Regions from separate parts of the Homo sapiens genome. Here region 1 is linked to region 2. Evidence: promoter capture Hi-C in 16 types of primary human blood cells and fetal thymus (Javierre and others, 2016). All regions are on one chromosome and are shown on one strand. Each heading gives the region's core, a stretch centred on a gene start or on the middle of the fragment in contact. The rest is flanking DNA. Distances are from core to core; before and after follow the strand shown. Region 1 overlaps FMOD (fibromodulin). Region 2 holds the start of PPFIA4 (PPFI scaffold protein A4).

What was found. The method cuts DNA at HindIII sites, captures the fragments that hold promoters and counts their contacts. A CHiCAGO score of 5 or more calls a contact.
Region 1: a contact is called between a fragment that was not itself captured here and the fragment with the promoter of PPFIA4 in region 2, in 2 of 17 cell types (neutrophils and M0 macrophages). The highest score is 6.5, in neutrophils.

Annotation. Positions count from the first base shown.
Region 1 is chr1:203,346,370-203,349,400 of GRCh38, forward strand. It overlaps FMOD (fibromodulin), which reads right to left. Exons shown (of 3, transcript NM_002023.5): 2 at 923-1,908. The coding sequence starts at 1,901. Among named protein-coding and RNA genes, the nearest start is that of FMOD, 3.2 kb to the right of the region's middle. RefSeq lists an enhancer at 1-168. The HindIII fragment of the contact is 6,064 bases long and covers 1-3,031 here.
Region 2 is chr1:203,025,011-203,028,045 of GRCh38, forward strand. It overlaps PPFIA4 (PPFI scaffold protein A4), which reads left to right and starts at 1,481. Exons shown (of 30, transcript NM_001304331.2): 1 at 1,481-1,619. RefSeq lists a silencer at 1,271-1,580 and an enhancer at 1,407-1,928. The HindIII fragment of the contact is 10,467 bases long and covers 1-3,035 here.

The sequences.
Region 1 (3,031 bases), core at 103-2,602, 320 kb after region 2:
AAGACATCAGAAGCCCTGGGGTAATGTAAGCATGTTCTGAATACTAGATCCTAAGACTAAAGGGAGCTGAAAATCAGCTAGATAATTCCATCTGAAATGAATATTTCTTAGAGTCAGGGAGGCAGCCTTTTTTTTTTTCCTTTGGGCATTGCAAGGAAGTGCTTATGAAACAGGAAGCCCAGTGTCCTAGGCTTGGTGGTAGTCAGGCTCATGTTACCCTAGGAAGGATATCTGCCCTGCCACCAGGGGGTCCTTGTACTCCAGGAAGAACTGACCAGAACAAGTGCCGCATTCAGCTCTGAGAATAAACACCAAAACACAAGACCAGGCTGTAGACGCAAGAGTAGTTCAAGTGGAAAAAGAGAGCTCATCCTCTTCTGGGACAGTGAGTAAGTGCAGGGCTTCAACCCACCATTCTCCTGAAACAGACTTTAGAAGCTAAACTTAAATCTCCCTCCCTTTGAAGTATTCCCTCCTAAACTTCTCCGAACTCATCTCTTACTGCTCCCTGACACATGACCCCTTCATCTCAGACACGTGACATTTCCCAGCTGTCCCCTACATCGACAGGTGACCTGTGAAAATGACTGGCTCCTTTGTGGCAAGCCTCTGTCCCAGAATGTCTCCATCCTGCATACCCCCAACCCATGCCCACTTATCTCTCAAGACCTGGAATGAAACTTACCTCTCCTGGAAAGTCTTCTTCTGTACCAACCCACTCCCCACTGAATTGTCTTAGCACTGCTATTTAGTATAAGTGTATTCTCTTTTGTACAGGGGTATGGCTTGGTTGTCAGGTTGCTTCATTTGTGCTGTCTGGTTCCCCTATTTCTATTTCTTTTGTTTTGCCACTAGCACTCAGAATAGTGTCTTTCAAGTGAAATAGACAGCCAGTCCCCGCCTCCCTTTGCCAAGGTCTCACCATTGATCCTATTGCCTTGGAGGTAGAGGTTCTCCAGGTTGGTGTTGACTGGGGGGATCTTCTGCAGCTGGTTGTAGGAGAGGTCTAGCTCAAGGAGGCTGCTGGAATTGAAGGTGTTGGAGGCCAGGCCATTGTTGGTTAGACTGTTGTGGGACAGCCGCACATACAGCAGCTTGGGCGCCCCCCGGAAGTAGCTATCGGGGACGGTGTAGACATTGTTGTGCTCCATGTACAGCTGCTCAAGAGCTGAGGGCAGCCCATCAGGCACCTTCCGAAGGTGGTTATAACTCAGGTCCAGCAAGATCAGTGACCGGAGGCCCCTCATGGAACTGCCCACTTCCTGGATCTCATTGTGTTGGAGGTACAAGGCCGTGAGGTTCTCCAGCCCCTCCAGAGCATTGTTGGGGACCCGTGAGATCTGGTTGTGGTCGAGATGGAGCTCTCTCAGGGATCGAGGCAGGGGACCGGGCATCCGGGTCAGGTTGTTGTGGTCCAGGTACAGCCTCTCCAGGTGCCTCAGCTTGGAGAAGACCTTCCTGCCCACCTTATCACTGGTGATCTGGTTGCCGTGGAGAGCAATCCAGAGCAGCCCTGTGGCATTGTCAAAGACGCCTTCCTGGATGGAGGTGATCTGGTTGTTCTGGAAGTACACATACTTCATGCGGGAGGGAACGAAGGGCAGGTACTTGAGGTTGCGATTGTCACAGTACATGGCCGTGGGGAAGTTGGGTGGGCAGTCGCACTCCTGGGGGCAGTCGCGGGGATCTGGAGGGGATGGAGAGCCGTAGGTGTAGGCTGGCCCTTCATCCACCCCATAGGGGTAAGGCTCGTAGGTCTCATACGGGTAAGGGTCATAGGGATCGTAGTAGGTGGACTGCTGGCTGCGGAGGTAGTGGAACCACCAATGAGGGTCATCTTCATACTGGGCCTGGGAGAGGGAGAAGAGCCCTGCCAGCAGCAGGAGGGAGGTCCACTGCATTTTGTCTCTGCAAGAAGCGGGAGAGAACAGAGCAAGCCAGCATGAGTGAGACTCCACAGAGGCAGTGAGGCAGAGTAGGCAAGCCTTAGGCTTTGAGCTATGCAGAGCTGACTTCCATGTCAAACATCTGAGAGCAGGAGCCTTGCTCTCATTTCTTCGGTGCCTCCTCCCAGTCTGGTTCTGCACTTGGTCCAGCCGGACCATGGCTATTTGGGGTGAGCTAAGTGCATTTTCCCCTGGTCATAGAGTCACAGACAGAATGTCTTTGAATGGGAACAGCTGCATTTTTTTTTTGGAGGGGCAGATTCTTAGGAGCCTCTAGCACTCTGAAAGTCCTGTGGGAAAGCTGAAAAGCCCACAGCAATCCCTGTGTTTGTGGTGTGGTGGTAAGGATGGTAGTGGGATGCTCTTCAGATCTGAACCCAAATCCAGTTTGGATGTTCCGGGGAAATAGTATTTTTCTAAGAGTCCAAGGAGAAAGCCCTAGGATGGGAGACCTCCAGAAGCCGCTTGACGCATCGAAGGGGAAGAGCTGAACTACATCTGGAAAATCTTTTGGTCTCTTGGGCAGGCTGGGAGTTTTTGGTCTTGAGTGTTTGGGGAGGAGTGTGGTCCCTCTGCAGCCACCACAAGGCTCAGGTTGCCCTCCAAAGTGCCATCATCTGTAACAGTCTGCTGAGTGAGGAAACTCACTGGTTAGCAGTTTGTGGCTACACATGCAACTTGGCTGGGACAGGGTCTTCATGCAGCAGTTACAAATCCTTTCCAGACTGAGGACCCTGGCACTGGGTGTGGCACTTGCCTTCTAAAGCAGGTACTCAGTGTGTGAAGTCTGAGTTAATCTGCTTCTCTCTTCCATGGTGCCTAGTAAGGTGTTAGCACTCCTCATGCTCCACCATGGGCATCATGCAAGAGCCATGTGGGGCCAAGAGAAATGAATGAGGGACACCAAAAGAATAGCTAGAGATTGGAAACTCTTGTGTATGCTCAAGGGAAAGCAGCTTGAGGTAGGACCCTGACATTCTCCTCTCCTTTCCCAAGCTACCTGCTCCCAGCGATGACACCTAGATGACCAGGCTCTGTGTCTAGGTCCCCACATTGCTGGAAACCTGTTGCTTTTGAACCTGTTG
Region 2 (3,035 bases), core at 231-2,730:
GTTGCCGTTTCTAGCATGATACATGCTTTATTAGTGACAGGATGTGAAGTGTCTCAGGGATTTCCTTTTGGTGAGGACCCCAGACCACCCGAAGAAGAATTAGAACTTTCTGGACTACAGGTTATATACTGTGATTTTGCTCTGTCAAGCAACATAAATTGATCCTTGAACGCTGTGAGAGTTATGGACACAGACCCTCACACAGTTGAAAATCTGCTATGACTTTTGACTGCCCGAAAACTTAATAGCCTACTGTTGACTGGAAGCCTTATTGATAACATAAACAGTTGATTAATGTGCATTTTGTATATGTAGTATATACCTTATTATAATAAGCTCGAGAAAAGAAAATGTTATTAAGAAAATCAAAGAAGAGAAAATACATTTACTGTTCATTAAGTGGGTCATCATGTTGAGCAGGCTGACGAGTAAGAAGAGGAGGGGTAGTCTTGCTGTCTCAGGGGTGGCGGGGAAGGAAGAAAATCTGCATGCAACTGGCCCTGTGCAGTTGAAGGCCCTGTTGTTCAAGGGTCACAGATTTAGCTTCACTTACCCACCCCTCAGATCAGAATTACTCAAGATTTCCCTGTCTTCAAAGAGACGCAAGGAAATTATGCCAAATGGTGAATATATTGGGTGGAAGATAAATGAGAGAAGGTTGTATGTGTCACTGATCTCAACTATAGCATTTGCTGCTGATATAGAACATGCTGTGTATATATCTATAAATACACACACATGAACACATTGCATGTATATAAAAATTGTTCACACTTTTAGTGGTGCTTACTGGGTATTGGTAAAGGATTGAGTAGGCACTGTGATGAAACTTCACAAAGCAGATGGAAAAGATGCATTAATAGCCACAGGGGGCAGGGTAAGGGAGCAATTCAGGAAAATGGAGAGGCTTAGCTAAAATTTGTCAGTCAGGAATTTTGGCATTTGAGACTTGTTTTCATACTATGTATATGTAATAGACAAACCCTTCATTTTGTAGTAACAGTGTTAGAACAGCCAGGTGCCTGAAGGCAAGCGACACAATTCACTGAAGAGCATACTACAGATGTAGTATCCGGATATCAAGTTTCCCCACTTAAAAAATGGGTGCGATCAAAGGAAAAGCAAGGAACGGGCAGGAGAGCAAGCGTGAAAGGTGACAAACTTGACAATTACAAGGCCGAGACTAAGGCCAATTTAGGGAACGGGCTGTTAGACTAGGAACAAGGGCGAGTTCAGAGGGAGGGGCAGAATGTGGGCAGCACTCCTGGGCCCTGAGACCCTTCTGCGGAATAAAACTCTGGCACTTCGCCACCTCCTAGGCTGAACCAAGATGGCGCGCGGCCTCAAAGCGGCGCTCTCGTCACGTGCCCGGACCCGAGGCGCTTGGGGGCGGGAGGCGTGGCCTCGGTCGCGGCAGCCCAGCCCCGCCTAGGGGGCGGAGCCGGGGGGGGTTGTCCGCGGAGGAAGGGGGCGGGGCCCCGCGGCCGCGCGCTTGGGCGGCGGAGGCTGCAGCTACCTCGGCGCCGGCTCGGCTCTAGGACGTGTCGGGCTGCACGGGTCGGGGGCGGCTCCCTGCTGCTTCCGAGCCTAGCCGCCTGGCCTTCGGCATTTGCAGGCAGGTGAGCGCCCAGAGCCTGGACTGGGGTAGGATGCGTCTTTTCCCCATCTCCAGCTCCCCTCGACAGTTTGGGGAGGGGTCTCGTCTATCGCACCTCGGGAAACAGCCCTTTTTGACTCCGTATGTGCTACCTCCGGCAGGCGTCGGTACTGCTTACCCTGCCGCCCCTCGCCCTCCTTTGCGGTGCCCTGTGCCCTTGGGGGTGAGGATAGGGGCGATGCCTGATCTGCGGGGAGGGCGTGGAGTGCGCCCTCTGCTCCATCGGCTTCAGGGGAGGGGGCCGAGTTGGCGAGTCTCCCGGTGGGAACGGAGCAGACTGCGCCCCCATTTCCCCTCCAGGAGAGTCAGAAAAAGCGCCTCTCGGCTCCGGGGCCAACCCCACTCCTTTGGGGACGCGATTCTGATGGGCTGAGGTCTTCGCTCTTCGCGGGGGTCTTAATCTTTCCCGAGTTGCTCATAGCACCCCTGTTCCTGTCGCTAGCTCTCCATTCCTCGAACTGCCAGCCTCAGTCTGTGCCAGAGATGCCCCCATCTCCGCAGTGCCAGGGCGGTGGGGTGGAAGGAGCGGCCAACCCGAGGCCTGGTGGGGGTGGGGACAGGGGTGGGCGCAACAGGAAAAGAGGGCTGGAATAGAGATGCCTGAACTGGGAGGGTGGGAGTGGGGCGCTGACTTACGTCCACGCAGTAGGGATGTTTTCCAGCGCAGATTTTGAGGTTTTGATGGTGGGTGGGAAGAGAGAGGTCGGGCTGGAGGACTTGGAGACATGGTGTAGGTGGTTTTCTTCGAGAAGGAGGAGGGATCCAGGACAAGGTGCCACTAGGAGCTGATGTCACCTTTGAGGAGAGGTGTGCTGGTAGTTTCCATCAGAGGAGCAGGAGAGTTGGGGCCGTTCTGTGTGGAGAGCAAGTGGTTAAGGAGGCGCTGCTTCGCAGGGAGATCCCCTCCTGGTGTGAGCTTAAGGGTCCCCTCCAGGAGCCAGGTTTCAGGGATTTCCCATAGTCCTTTCCAGAGTTCTTGGATCTGGTACCTAGTACTTTGCTCAACATCCAGCAAACATTTGTTGGACACCTACTATCTGCCAGATACTATGCTCGGTGCTAGGTCTTCTGAAGGCAATTTACAGCCACGGAGTAGCTGAAAGGTACACATAGGAGGCACACATAGCAGGTATTCTGTTAACACCCTTCTCACCGCCCATCCCCATTCTGTTACATTGCTGTTGGATTAGAAAAAGAAAGAACTGTGTCCACGTGCTTTCAAACAGCTGTCTGAATTAGACTCCAACCTACACACCCCCTACCACTATTAACTGGCCAGGTAGTCCCAGGGAAGCTGCCTAAGCAAAAGGGCAGCTTGAATGATTTCCCTTGGTTATTTTCTCAGATTTTGTCCTGAGGCTTGAGGAGGCTTCGTGGG